5 separate regions of the Homo sapiens genome follow, and all the other regions are linked to region 1. Evidence: promoter capture Hi-C in 16 types of primary human blood cells and fetal thymus (Javierre and others, 2016). All regions are on one chromosome and are shown on one strand. Each heading gives the region's core, a stretch centred on a gene start or on the middle of the fragment in contact. The rest is flanking DNA. Distances are from core to core; before and after follow the strand shown.

Region 1 (2,779 bases), core at 153-2,652:
CAATAAACCAAAAGTGCCCAGACTTTGGAGTAAAATTTTTGGGTCCCAATCCATCTCTGACAATTCCTTTCTCTGGAACCTTGGACAAGCTACCTAACTTCTCTGAGCCTCAGTTTCTTCAACTATAAAACAGGGCTAACAGTAGCACCTACCTCAGAGGAATGTCAAATTCTCCTGCAGTCTATATTAACTACTTTTCTTTTATCAACTTAGTTTTTTACCGAAGTTATTTTTCAAAGGAATTTTTATGTCATCGTAAACACAAAGTCATTATCAGTTGAGATGGTTAGCTGACCTACCAAAACAAATGCCATGAAACCAAACGGAGTTATTAAATCCCAACTAGAGATACTTCTGCATACTGGAGGCGGAATTATCTAGCTAGGGATATAGTCAAGACTTCCTCCTTGTCAGTCATCCACACAGACGACTGCGATTAAACGAGTTAATACCCTGCAATGCGTTTACAGCTGGGCGCCGTACGCGCTGCTCCCAACTCTAGGCCATCGTCATGACAGGATCAATGCCAGTTCATGCCCACTTTCTAGGGCTGGGAGTAGGAGACCGAGGATGTCTGTGGAGATTCACCCGCCTGGCCCGGGAACCCTGGCCAGCGGGCCCTGGGGGACTTGGGGTGGTCACGTACTGGACTCGGGACTTCTCTTCCCAGGGCGCCGGTGGGTCCTCACACGCTCGCCGCAGGGCCGCGATCTCAGCTTGCAAGGCGCGCACCTCTGCCAGCTCTGCGTCCATGGCGCGTTGCTGACCGCAGCCGGGCCGGCAGCGCAGCTGTCACTCCGACCTGCGCGCTTCACCCGCGCTTCAAGCCTCGCGCGCGCTCCCGGCGCGGACCATCCCAGAGCTCACGCGGAGGGGAGGCGGGAGAGCTCCGCGTGACCCCAGCGGCCCTGCACGTCCAACTCCGCTCTCGCACGAGAGCCTGAGTCCTCCACTTCCCCGCACACGTTTCCCTGGCTGTCTAAGCAGTGGCTATACTTTCTCTGGAGAGCGCGTTCTTTGCTACTCCAAGCCCAAGCGCTCCGCTGCTCACCCTAGCCGGCAGCCTTGGAGCCGCCCGGCCGCGTGCCTCACTAAAGAGGCAGGGCTGGGATCACGTGGAGGGGAGCGCCTCTTTATTTTTTTCACCTACTTCCTCTCTTACGCCGACCTAGTCCAGGAATTGGTACACACAGCGATAGTGTTCAATAGAAACTAGGGGATTTTGGTTTAGGCTCTTTTGCAGTCGTTGAGGGGGAGGTGACGGAGGCGTCAGGGAAGGTGGGAGGACGGAAAAGGAAATTAAAAGCTCTTGGGAACTGAATTGTGGTAACGGAACCTTAGGAGGCTGGGTTGGAAATCGAGTAGGAAGGAAGAGAGGATGCTCCGTTGGGACACGTGACCAGAAGTTAGGGGCTGCAGCGGCGCTGGCTTTAGGTGAACGACGTGGTGAGGAGTGGGTTTCGGGCATGAGAAGTCACAGGGCCGTTTCCTAGTCTCTCTTCACTTCTTTGGGTCTTCTCAGAGAAAGAAGGCTGCCGTGGGTAGGCTGGGGGCGGAGACTATCGGGAAGAGGTAGGCCGAAGTTCTGCCCAGAATACACGCCATGTGGTGGACGCTGGTTGGGAGTCTCTTCTGGAAAGAGTCTGTCAGCTCTTGGGGAAGGGAAGGGCGAGAGCTGAGCGCCTGCCGGGTGCTAAACGAAATGAGAGATACTATGATGGGCCCTAGTACCTCTGGAAAAGTTTTCCTGAGTCCCCTGTGATACAGCAACCTTCATAGTATAGTGTTAAGAATTCCAAGTTCTGAAGGTAGACCTGCATTATAATCCTGGATTCACTAATTTTCGGTATGGCATTGAGGAAGTGACTTAACCTCTTCTGCTCTCCTGAAAAATGGGAAACATGCAAACTACTTTGTACAATGCAGGCACATAGCAAAAACACAAGTCTGTATTCGCTATATCCCTTGATCTTTGTGTCTGAACCCCACTTTGCAGCACTTTTATTGTGACATAATATTGTGCCATTTGTTTTATTCTTTTGTGACTATAAGGAGCTCCTAGCCTCTCTATTCACTTCTTTGGGTCTTCTAGGAGGAAGAAGGCTGGGGTGGGTAGGTTGGGGGTGGAGACAATTAGGAAGAGGTAGGCTAGCTCTTTTTATCTTTTAGTGCGTTACATCCTGTTTCTGTCAGACTTTGTTAAAGACAGTAAATGAATGTATGAGTGAGTCAAGGAAAAACATCTAAAAACATGAATACATAAAATTAAGAGGGATAGAGTGTAATATTATGGCCATTTGGAGGAAAAAAACTCTGTCTGTACCTGTGTCTATATGGGTATGGGGTTGCTGTTCCAAAGTGCATTCATGAAAGATGTGGATGTAGGGCTTGGGCAAAACCTCGAAGACTAAAATTTGGAAGTAATACAATAGGAAGTGAAATACAGATCCAGGAGACGGATTTGATACAGAAGGTTCAGAGGAAGTAGTTGTTTTGTTAGATTTTAGAAGAACTAAGGGAAAGAACTCTTCTCTGTATACAGAAAATTACTTTTCCCACTGAAACACACCCAAGTATATGCCCAGCCTTCATGAAAGTGAACAGAGAAACGAAGCGCCTTTATGTGGGTGGCCTTAGCCAGGACATTTCTGAGGCAGACCTACAAAATCAGTTCAGCAGATTTGGAGAAGTTTCGGATGTGGAGATCATCACACGGAAAGATGACCAAGGTAATTTATGGTCCTTCACTGGGCAGTTATAGGCAGACATAACTCAGGTT
Region 2 (2,779 bases), core at 165-2,664, 470 kb before region 1:
CCGCCGGTGTTCACATGGCAGATATTATTATGACCAGGCATCATTACAACTGGCCATGACAGGCCAGGCGTGGTGGCTCACGCCTGCAATCCCAGCACTTTGGGAGGCCAAGGTGGGCGGATCATGAGGTCAGGAGTTCAAGACCAGCCTGGCCAATATGGTGAAACCCCATCTGTACTAAAAAATACAAAAATTAGCCGGGCATGGTGGTGAGCGCCTGTAGTCCCAGCTACTCGGGAGGCTAAGGCAGAAGAATCTCTTGGACCTGGGAGGTGGAGGCTGCAGTGAGCGGAGATCATGCCACTGCACTCCAGCCTGGGAGACAGGGCAAGACTCCATCTCAAAAAAAAAAAAAAAACGATTGACCATGACTCGGTAATTCCTGGGCTTCAAAGTCAGTCGCCTTGTCTTAGTTCACAGGCTTGTATTGCAGGACTGGCTTCTGTTATATAGCAGGGCTCACATACTCTCTCCTACAGGGATGTAGGTGGTATTCAGACTAGTTCCTTTTCCTGCTGATTATACTACAGGATGTGGGTTATCCAGAGCAGAGTGCATTGGTCGAAGTTGCAAGAGCTCTCAGAGAGCTTCCATAGGTTTGGAGACCCATACGATTCCCACAGGTGGGCCCCTTGAGCCTCAGCAACCAGGACAGAGGGCCACTGCCCCACGGCCACTTTGGCCTCCATCTGTAACAAAATAGTCAAGTAACCCTGTTGGATCTAGGGAGAAGCCCTTTCCCAACACTGGGTGCTAGCTTTACCCAACGTTACCCAACCCACTTCACCGAAGCCTCATTGTCCTCCCAGGCTGACTCCCACCCCTTGCTCCCTTTAATCTGCTTATTTTTTTCAATAAATTTTTCCCCACTGAGTGCTACTCTTCATCAAAAGCAAATTCAGGCCGGGTGCGGTGGCTCACACTTGGAATCCCAGCACTTTGGGAGGCCAAGGTGGGCGGATCATTTGAGGTCAGGAGTTTGAGACCAGCCTGACCAACATGGTGAAACCCCATCGCTACTAAATACAAAAATTATCTGGGCGTGATGGCGGGTGTCTGTAATCCCAGCTACTCGGGAGGCTGAGGCAGGAGAATAGCTTGAACCCAGGAGGCAGAGGTTGCAGACAGCCAAGATTGCGCCACTGCACTCCAGCCTGGGCAACAAGAGTGAGATTCCCCCTCAAAAAAAAAAAAAAAAAGCAAATTCAGCTCATCCCATGAAGCCGAGGCCAGCACCCGTCTCCCCTAAGGCCCTTTTCTGTCTGGTGGGCCAGTGTTCAGGCCACCATGCATGCTGTTGCCACTGTGTCCTCGTGGCTGAGCGCAGTTAGGATACATGTTTCATTACTCAAAAGTATTGGGTTTCCCCATACTTGCATTTTGTAAGTCGTGGTCACACCTCATTGTCATTTAGTCTGAATATGTCATAGAGGTTTCCATTGTCTTACTTGTGCATGGAGGGGCTGCTCCCTTGGGGAATTTGGACCCACCGGGTGATGCCTACTGCTTTAGTTCCATCACCATCCCAGTGGTTTTTCCTGGTTTGTGTAAGAGCTTTCCATTCACAGAACAGGGTGGTTTGTGTCTGTGCACAACACACTGTGGCATGTTGGACAGGCCACCATTCTATGTCGTCCAAGATAACCAGGGAGAACTTTGTAAGCCTCTGATCACCTGGGTTTATAGTTACACAGGAGTCAGTCAACCAGCAATCATACACTACACAGTCTGATGCCCCAATAGGGAGTAGTTCCCAAAAAACCCTTCCCAAAAGATACCCTTTGTTGTAGATGTACCCTGAAAAGTCAGAGTTGAAAGATGCTAGAGTTCCACTTGGTCATCGTCGTGTGACCACAGTGTCTCTGACAGTGATGTCACTAGGTTTGCAGGTTGCTATTCGACCTTGTCAGATTCCTAAAACAGGGATGGTTTGACAAACACACAAGTTTACCCTTTCAGGCATCTGGTATAACTGTGCTAAGAGACAATATAATTCCCTTGCTCTGAGCTTACCTCGAGGCACCAATATATTGTTGGGTTTCTCTCATTGCATAACCCATTTATTCATTCCTTTGCCCTCAGCTACTATTTCTCCTTCTCTCCATTTGTCATTGATTTTCACCCAACTTTCACACCTTTAGAAAGGATGAAGGGATGTTAGGTTCATCCACTGTGTAGGCCCAGATGGCCAGCAGTGTAGGCCCAGATGGCCAGCAGCAATACCACTTCAGCAGGTGCCTCCCGCAGGGCCATTTCCAGTCATGTAAGGTAGGGCTGCAAAGAGACGAACTGTGAGGCTGCCCTGACCACCAGGAGATACAGCTGCACTCACTGTCCACCTCTGATTTGCCAGATGCAGTGGAGGCACAGCTATCCCATCAGACCTTTAGGATTTCTGACACAAATGTTAAAAGATATAACAACTGTTTCTCACTTAAGAATCATTCCTGCCTCTGGCCGGGTGCGGTGGCTCATGCCTGTAATCCCAGCACTTTGGGAGGCCAAGGCCGGCGGATCACAAGATCAGGAGTTCGAGACCAGTCTGACCAACATGGTGAAACCCTGTCTCTACTAAAAATACAAAAATTAGCTAGGTGTGGTAGTGTGAGCTTTACCTACCCAGTGGCAGATGCTTCCAACACTTGCAGCTGTGGGCCTGATCTCAGGCTCTTTTCAGCAGGTAGGAGACAAGAAAGTTGAGGTGCTGTTGTGAAGAACTGCATAGTCGTAGCAGCATCCTTCCCGGCCATCTTCCCCAGATCACCCCAAGAGTGGAGGG
Region 3 (2,779 bases), core at 94-2,593, 370 kb before region 1:
AAGAGATTGGGGAAATATATTCAGCATCCTTAAAGAAACAAAATTCCAACCAAGAATGTCATATCCAGCTAAATTAAGCTTCATAAGCAAAGGATAAATAAAATCCTTTTTACACAAGCAAACACTAAGGAAATTCATTATTACCAGACTGCCTTACAAGAGGTCCTTAAGGGAGTGCTAAATATGGAATACAAAACAAAAGACTGTTGCCTGCCACCATAAAAACACATAGTCCACTGACACTATAAAGCAACTATACAATCAAGTCTGTGTAACAACCAGTTGACAACATGACTGGATCAAATCCTCACATATCAATATTAACCTTGAATGTAAATGAGAAAACATCCCACTTAAAAGGCACAGAGTGGCAAGTTGGATAAAGAAGCAAGACCCAACTGTATGCTGTCTTCAAGAGACCCATCTCTTGGCTAGGAGTGGTGGCTCACATCTCTAATCCCAGCACTTTAGGAGGACAAAGCAGGAGGATCACTTGAGCCCAAGAGTTGAAGACCAGCCTAGGCAACATAGTGAAAGAATTTAAAAAGAGAGAGACCCATCTTATATGCATGACACTCATAAGCCCAAAGTAAAGCAATGGAGAAAGATCTGTGAAGCAAAGAGAAAACGAAAAAGAACAAGAGTTACTATTCTTACTTCAGACAAAATATAAACCAACAATGCTCAAAGAGGACAAAGAAGGACATTCCATTAATGATAAAGAGTTCAATTCAACTATCCTAAATATATATGCATCCCAAATTGGAGCACCCAGATTCATAAAACAAATTATTAGAGACCTACAAAGAGACTTAAATAACCACATAATAATAGTAGGGGACTTCAACACCCTACTGACAGTGTTGGACAGAACATTGAGACAGAAAACTAATAAAGGTATTTGGGACCTAAACTCAACACTTCACCAAATGCACCTGACAGACATCTACAGAATGCTCCACCCAACAACAGAATATACGTTTTTCTGTTCTTATGTACACATGGCACATACTCTTAAGATTGACTGCACACTCAGCCATAAAGCAATTCTCAACAAGTTAAAAAAAAAACAAACCAACCACACTCTCAACCACAGTGCAATAAAAATAGAAATTAAAAACAAGAAGATCTCTCAATACCATATATGGAAATTAAACCACTGGCTCCTGAATGACTTTGGGTAAAGAATGAAATTAAAGCAGAAATCAAGAAACTCTTTGAAACTATTGAAAACAAGGATGCAACATACCAGAATATCTGGGACACAGCTAAAGCAGTGGTAAGAGGAAAGTTTATAGCTGTGAGCACCCACATCAAAAAGTCAGAAAGATCTCAAATTAACAACCTAACATCACACTTAGAGGAACTAGAAAAACAAGAGCAAACCAACCCTAAAGCCAGCAGAAGAAAAATAACTAAAATGAGAGCTGAACTGAACAAAGTTGACATGTGAAAACCCATACAAAAGATCAATGAAACCAAAAGTTGGTTCTTTGAAATACTATCGCAAGGACAAAAAACCAAACACCGCATGTTCTCACTCACAGGTGGGAATTGAACAATGAGAACACATGGACACAGGAAGGGGAACATCACACACCCGGGCCTGTTGTGGGGTGGGGGGAGGGGGGAGGGATAGCATTAGGAGATATACCTAATGTTAAATAACGAGTTAATGGGTGCAGCACACCAACATGGCACATGTATACATATGTAACTAACCTGCACGTTGTGCACATGTACCCTAAAACTTAAAGTATAATAAAAAAAAAGAGAGTAAACCCCAGGTGTGGACAGACATGTAACCCATAGGTCTTCCCTGCAGTGGAGCGCTATTGATCTCACAGCCAAGAACAGTGCTGAATTTGTCCTCTCTGAAGAAGATAGAGTCAAAAAGTACAAGGAGTGAATGACTGAGCTACTATACTCAATTTTATTATTATTATCAATTAATTAACTTATTTTAATTGTCAAATAAAAATGATATATGTTTATGGTGAAAAAAAAAATGAGACTCATAGACCTCTAGCTAGACTGATAAAGAAAAAAAGAGAGAGAAGATCCAAAGAAACACAATCAGAAATGACAACGGTGACATTACCACTGGCCTCACTGAAATACAAGAAACCCTCAGAAAGTATTATGAACATCTCTATGCACACAAACTAGAAAACCTAGAAGAAATGGATAAATTGCTGTAAACATTCAACTTACCAATATTGAACCAGGAAGAAATTGAATACTTGAACAGACCAATAACAAGTTCCAAAATTGAATCAATAGTAACAACAACAACAACAACAACAAAAACCTACCAACCAGAAAAAGCCCTGGACCAGATGGATTCACAGCTGAATTCTACCAGACATGTAAAGAATAGCTGGTACAAATCCTACTGAAACAATTCTAAAAAATTGAGGAGACAGACCTCCTCCCTGATTTATTCTATGAGGCCGGAATCATTCTGATACCAAAACCTGGTGAAAAAAATAAAACTTTAAGCTAATATCCCTGATAAAATTAGATGCAAAAATCCTCAGCAGAACACTAGCAAATTGAATCCAGCAGCACATTTAAGAGCTAATCCACTATGACCAAGTAAGCTTTATTCCTGGGATGCAAGGTTGGTTCAACATATACAATTAAATAAATGTGATTTCTCACATAAACAGAACTGAAAACAAAAACCCCATTATCATCTCAATAGATGCAGAAAAGGCTTTTGAAAAAATTCGACATCCTTTCATGTTAAAAGCCCTCCACAAACTAGGTATTGAAG
Region 4 (2,779 bases), core at 141-2,640, 340 kb before region 1:
GAGTCCTGTGCTGACCCCCATCCCCTCTACCATGAGAACATGATGCGCCTTCAGCCAGCCTGAGCTCGTCCTGCAGGAGCCGAGGGCCTAGGTAAGGAGATCTGCATGGTCATTGGCTGTCAGCACTAGAAGGAGCACAGTGATGTTCTTCCTGCAGTATGCAAACATGGGATGAGAGAGAGCCTTCTGTGCAGCGCAGGACTTGTAGGAAATGAGGCCTGGGGATGGAGGAACTAGGTGTGGGCTACAGGAGGGTGGGAGGTTGTGCCCAGGGTGGGCAGGAAGGTAAATAGCAGGCCAGCCATAGAGAGGCGTTTAAAGGTGTTCCTGACAGAAGGTGGTCAGCTTCCCCAAGGCCCTTCCACTCAGAGACGGCCCAGGATGATTCTCATTTTGCCTGTCAGTTTGCATTCTGCCTCTGTTTGGGATGGTTGTGCACCTGAACTTTCCCAGGCACAGGTAACCATGGTGTTCTCTGCCTCATGTGGTGTGGACCCTGTGGCATGCTTGAGAGGCTCTCGGCAGCCTGGCATGTTCCCTGGTGTGTGTCTGGAGCTCCAGACACTGACCCTGTGGGGGCTCCTTGATGAGGGAACTTCCCATCTGGGCACAGTTTCCTCGCTGCAGCCTGAAGGTGCAGTACTTGGGCCAGTGGCCACATCTCAGGTTAGTGAAGTCCACAGGTTGCCCCTTTATGCACTGCCGCAGGATTTCTCTCCTGTGTGACGCCTGCGCCTGCCTCCTTCGCCTTCAGCTTGTTGGTTTTGGCTCAGTGTCCTGTCCTATGAAGGTCACTTTAGGTTTGGTTTGTCATTCCATCTCCTAGGTGTCTTCAGATCTGGATCATGCACTTGTCTGGGGCACTGAGCCCCTTCCGGACCACCTCAGCCTTGGGGAGCAGGGGCAGAAGGTGGCCCACTCCTGTCATGACACTAAGCTGTCATGATGTTTTCCTTCTTACTGACAGAGGTGACAGGAAAGACTTTGCCATTTAGTTGGCTTACCAGCCAACTAAATTGATCACATGTGTGGACAAAGCTGCTCACTTCCAGTTGTTCCAGTTTCGTGACCTTTCTGAGAGTCTGAGAGCTTCAGATCATTTCTGCAAATTGTTTTGTTGCCTGGGGAGTTTTGGTGTCCCTTTGGTACCTGTTTAGTGCTTGGGATATTTGTCTGGGCATTGAAGGTGTGAAGCTCAAGCGGTCAGGTGCCCTTCTACTGTTTCTCTTCTCATCTTGTGTTTTAAGATTTCTGGTTCATAGATCATATATATATGTATTTTTTTTGCCATACAGCATGATTTTGTATATTTTAATAATTTAAATGATTATTTTGTAGTGGATGAATTAAGTCCTTTATATGAGGATGTGTTTACAGTTACGTAGAAAAAGCAGGTTACAAAAGAAGATGCATGATGTGGTTATAATTACAAAATGATTAGAAGAAAATAGATGAAAATGTTCTAAGTGGCTGTAACTGATAGTATCACGAATCACTTTTACTTTTTTTTGTTTTTTAAATATTTTCTGAATTTCCTACAATGGATATGTATGATACTCAGGAAAAAAGATTAATTTTTAAAAAGTTTATACTCTTTGATTTACTAATTTCTGTTCTAGTAGTCCGTTCTAAGGAGATAATTAGAAACGTAAATAAAGATCTTATACACAAAGATATCCATTACAGAATCACTTAGAACAGGTTAAGTGGAAAGCCATTGTGCAGTCCTGCAGGACTGTTAACTGGGCCATACTTCCTACTGTGGATGCTGAAAGCACATACGTTTATGTTCTCTGTTTTTTTCTGACTGTATAACATGTGCCCAAGCCCTTGGTCGCTCCCTTTTACAATTTTTAGCTGGACCTAGTTGAAATAGTCTTAGCTTTCTGTTACTGCTAGCATTTTGTTTAAACTAGTGATGTATTCTGCATTTGGGATTTTTAGTGGCGCTCTAGGCTGACGCAGCTGATGTGGCTTCTTTCCTGGTGATGTTCCTTCTTGTCTCATTTGAGCTCATTGGAGAGCTGTGCTTGTGGCTCGCTCTTTGTTTATTCCTTTCTTTGTATCTGCAGTTGCGTGATGAGGTCTGCTGTTTGGTGACTGCAGCCTGTGACAGTGCCTCTCGTGCACGGGGGTTTGTTGGTTTGGCCTTGGCTCACCTCCTACTTTTACACCTTCTGAGGTCACACAGCCACTTTTCTTCTGCCTGACTGAGCCTCCTTCTGCATCAGAATTCAGTCAGAGCAAAGCTCCCCAGTGACTTCCTGTGTCTTCTGAGAGCTGCGATCCAGGAGGGTGAGAAAAGCATCATTACTGTGTCTGCAGAGAGCAAGGCTGTGCCTAGGGCCCGGCCACTCCTGCCTTGTTGCCAAGCGGTTGGGAGATCTGAGGGCCCGGACTTGCTCACAGTTCCCTGTGGCCCTCACTGTGGGCCTCTAGGCAGCCCTGCTTCCCCTTTACAGGCAGTGAGGCTTTCCATGCCTATAGGGGTCAGCCCCATGCACGAGGTGTGCCTATCCCCACAGGCCTCCCCATGTTCTGAGAGTTGTGTGGGTGTGTGACCTCCCCCATGGCCCACACCTGTGCCTGCTTCAGTCCTGCAGAGGACACCATGAGGTCAGGACGGAGTTGCCGAGGCTTGAGGACATGCCCCATACAGGTTGGACAAGGGGCCAGCACTTACTGCGCCCTGACCCCAGGCTGTCTCCAGTCTGGCCTCCCTGCTCTTGCCTGCAGAGTACTGGGCTCCCATCCTCCACAGGCATCTTGGTGATGTCAC
Region 5 (2,779 bases), core at 179-2,678, 290 kb before region 1:
TTTTCTAAGAAAATACTCCCAAGAGCTCAGAAACAATGTGGACAGTGAGCTGCCCATTGCATTCCCTCAAAGAAAGCCAGCCCCTGAGATGTGTGGGTACCTGTGGCCCTTGTTCCTCGGTCTCCCACAGTGGCAGCATGGCGCACCTGCCTTTTTACCACCACAGTCATTTGAAAGCCTGTGAGGCGCGCATTCATTCTGCTTCCTCTTCTGAATAACCAGCCTATGTGCCGCCCCTCTCCCTAATGTCACTAGTTTTGTCCAGTCCCCTCTGTTTCTGGGAATTCGGGATGAAACTGATAATCTCATAGTCGTTAGACAGCATCTCCATCACCGATCTTCAGGGGTGCTAAACCCTGCACCCAGTATTTGCGGAATGTTCCACATTCTTCTAACATGTGTTCCTGGGTCAAGATGACCTTGGTTGCTGGCTGCCAGCCACTCACTTTCCCGGTGCTTTTGAACTAAACAGTTCCCAGGATTCCTGTTCCCTGGCAGGCACAGAATTGTTTACTTTCCAATATGAAATACTGAGGAACATTATAGGGCTAACTGAAGTAGAAAAAAGGTTGTTCTATTTAGTTGAAAACTCCTGTTATCCCCTAAGGAAATACCTACAGGGCTAAGTTATGAGGAATTCCTTAACTGGATTAAGCTGGTGGTGTTCGATGAGAGAAAACCCACGAAGATACCACTGTTCAGCAGCCCCCCGACCAAGGATGCAGCTGGGCAATGGAAATGTGCTTGGATGCAGGGTGCCCTTAGGTGGGCTGTGAAAGGCCGCTGAAGGACAGACATGTTACTCACCTCGTCTAGCACCTGGGAATCTCTTAGTGCCTGGTCAGTGATGTCAAATTGGAAAGCCAGCATGCGGGGAAAGCTGAAGGCCCGGGTCCTTACGACCAGCTGCTCAGCAGAAACGACACTAGGAGGGGAGGGGAGGGCATGTCCTGAAGGCACTGAGCCATGTGGCTTCTCAGACCTAGGGTGTAGGCACTGGAACCATCCTGCACAAAGCACTCTAGCCAGGCCTTTCTCAACAAAAGGAGAGGATCTCAGAGAAGGCTTCTCCTCCGAGAACATGGCGTGTGGGGCTGGGCCTGCTTCCAGGAAGGTGTGCGCAGTGGCCGCACCTGTGAAGTTCCAGTAACTGTGGTGCTCTAGAGGCCTAGGGACAAACTAAGGCTGGGATTTATCATGAGTCATCTTGGCGTCTTGAGATACCTGGTAGACCTGAGACTAAATTTAGATCCCTAGACTAATTTGCAGCTCACAGATAGATTGACCACATTTAAACTTCTTACACCCCCTAAAATAAAGGCTTCTCCAGCTCTGCACTACTGTTTCTGCCCTGTCATAAAGGAAAATGTCTCAAGTTGGATCTGCCTTCCTGTCGCTGCAGAGCTTTGTCCCTTTGGGAATTTGGAACTGTGGAGAGAGCTGCCACAGCTTCCCGGCCTAAACCCTGATGCTCCTCTCGACCTCCCATTTGAAACACAGTGTGCGGCCTTGGCTTCTCCACCCCGATCCCCAGCACCCTTGGAGGCTGCTGGTCCCCCGGTAACCCCCAGCGGGTCAGTGTCCTGGAGAACGGCCTTCCAGGCAAGGGCTGCCCCCCTGCAGCCAGAAGGCCACCTGAGCCTCATTCTCCAAGGCTGCTAGAGGGCACACTTGTGGCACAAGGGACAGGTGTGTCCCTGGGGCCTCTTGCCCAGTCTTGGCCTCCGGGGTACTGAGGGGGAAGAAGAGCATTTCTGTGTCAGGAGCTGGTGCCCGCTGGTCACTGCCATTGGTTCCCATGGAGCTAGCTTGTGGTTGACCCAGGTAGTCAGACCCTCCCCGGGAGCTGCCTGGAACATCCTTCCTGTCTTTACACCCATGGTCTTGTCAGGTGCTGCTTCTGAGAAATTGGGGTGTCCTTTAAAATACGTAACCCTAGTCATGGGCTGGGGATGTGACTGTTCCAGCCCAGGTGCACCCAGCTTGGGTCTCAGGCCTCAGAACTGAGCAGTACCTTGGGCTTCTGAGGTTCTCCCAATAAAATGTGGCCCCTTGGGATGAGCTGCAGGCACACTCCAGCTTCTGGAGCGAGACTCATGACCTTAATTTGTAAATGAGTTATTTGCTGTTTACTCTTCAGATGAGAATAGTTACTTACCCCAGCAGCTTAGTCAGGGATTTGTTTTTTCTACAAACAGGATTCTGGGGCAGGGCAGCAGTGAGCGCCAAGGCCATGGTGAGCAGCGTCAGAGCAGGGACGTGCTGATCAGTATTTCCTCTCCTCGGCAGGAGCTTTTGAAGTTGGGGTTTGGCTTGTTGATTTCTAAATCTCAAAGCGTAGTAAACATTGGGACACCAGAACCCAGGATACTTCTCTTGGACTGAACTGAGCTTAGGTCACTTGTTTAGCCAGTGTCTTGAGTGCTGTGCGCTGAGTGCCCGGAGACGAAAAGCGGGACACACAGCAGTCAGAGCTCAGGACTCGGAGTAATCCTAAATGTGTTTTTCAGGGCAAATAATTAATCACATCTTGTTATAAGCACACGACTTCTGAGGTTAAAACCACAAAACTAAGCCCTGAGAAGCAAAATACAAAGGACTGAAGATAAAATTTGAGAATAAAATGAGAAACCAGATCTCTTCAAATGTGAACCAAAGGAGCTTGCGTTTCTCAGCAGACAGGAGAGGCAAAGAAGAAGGCTTGTCGACATTCCATCCATTTGGCGCTGGAATGGCCAGATCTACTTTTTACTTTTTGTTGGGTTTTGTAATACTTGGC

The links. Contacts are between HindIII fragments. The CHiCAGO score rates a contact against its expected background, and 5 or more counts as called.
Region 2: a contact is called between a fragment that was not itself captured here and the fragment with the promoter of NOL8 in region 1, in 2 of 17 cell types (endothelial precursors and erythroblasts). The highest score is 5.8, in endothelial precursors.
Region 3: a fragment that was not itself captured here is called in contact with the fragment with the promoter of NOL8 in region 1 in 2 of 17 cell types (M2 macrophages and M1 macrophages); the score reaches 5.6 in M2 macrophages.
Region 4: a contact is called between a fragment that was not itself captured here and the fragment with the promoter of NOL8 in region 1, in 17 of 17 cell types (monocytes, erythroblasts, megakaryocytes and 14 more). The highest score is 11.5, in monocytes.
Region 5: a fragment that was not itself captured here is called in contact with the fragment with the promoter of NOL8 in region 1 in 6 of 17 cell types (M1 macrophages, M2 macrophages, endothelial precursors and 3 more); the score reaches 11.5 in M1 macrophages.

The regions. Positions count from the first base shown.
Region 1 is chr9:92,323,973-92,326,751 of GRCh38, reverse strand. NOL8 (nucleolar protein 8) reads left to right here and starts at 1,402. Exons shown (of 17, transcript NM_017948.6): 1 at 1,402-1,446; 2 at 2,543-2,729. The coding sequence starts at 2,591. It overlaps CENPP (centromere protein P), which reads right to left and starts at 799. Exons shown (of 8, transcript NM_001012267.3): 1 at 647-799. The coding sequence starts at 753. RefSeq lists enhancers at 1,194-1,303, 1,334-1,453, 1,232-2,120. The HindIII fragment of the contact is 10,709 bases long and covers 1-2,779 here.
Region 2 is chr9:92,792,325-92,795,103 of GRCh38, reverse strand. No RefSeq gene overlaps it. Among named protein-coding and RNA genes, the nearest start is that of BICD2, 29 kb to the right of the region's middle. The HindIII fragment of the contact is 8,551 bases long and covers 1-2,779 here.
Region 3 is chr9:92,695,079-92,697,857 of GRCh38, reverse strand. No RefSeq gene overlaps it. Among named protein-coding and RNA genes, the nearest start is that of IPPK, 26 kb to the right of the region's middle. The HindIII fragment of the contact is 2,525 bases long and covers 81-2,605 here.
Region 4 is chr9:92,664,322-92,667,100 of GRCh38, reverse strand. All of the region lies in intron 1 of IPPK (inositol-pentakisphosphate 2-kinase), which reads left to right. Among named protein-coding and RNA genes, the nearest start is that of IPPK, 4.4 kb to the left of the region's middle. The HindIII fragment of the contact is 6,089 bases long and covers 1-2,779 here.
Region 5 is chr9:92,616,461-92,619,239 of GRCh38, reverse strand. CENPP (centromere protein P) reads right to left here. Exons shown (of 8, transcript NM_001012267.3): 8 at 1-2,779. The region is part of intron 12 of IPPK (inositol-pentakisphosphate 2-kinase); the gene reads left to right. LOC100128361 (a long non-coding RNA gene) reads right to left here and starts at 1,190. Exons shown (of 1, transcript NR_036505.1): 1 at 1-1,190. The HindIII fragment of the contact is 2,995 bases long and covers 1-2,779 here.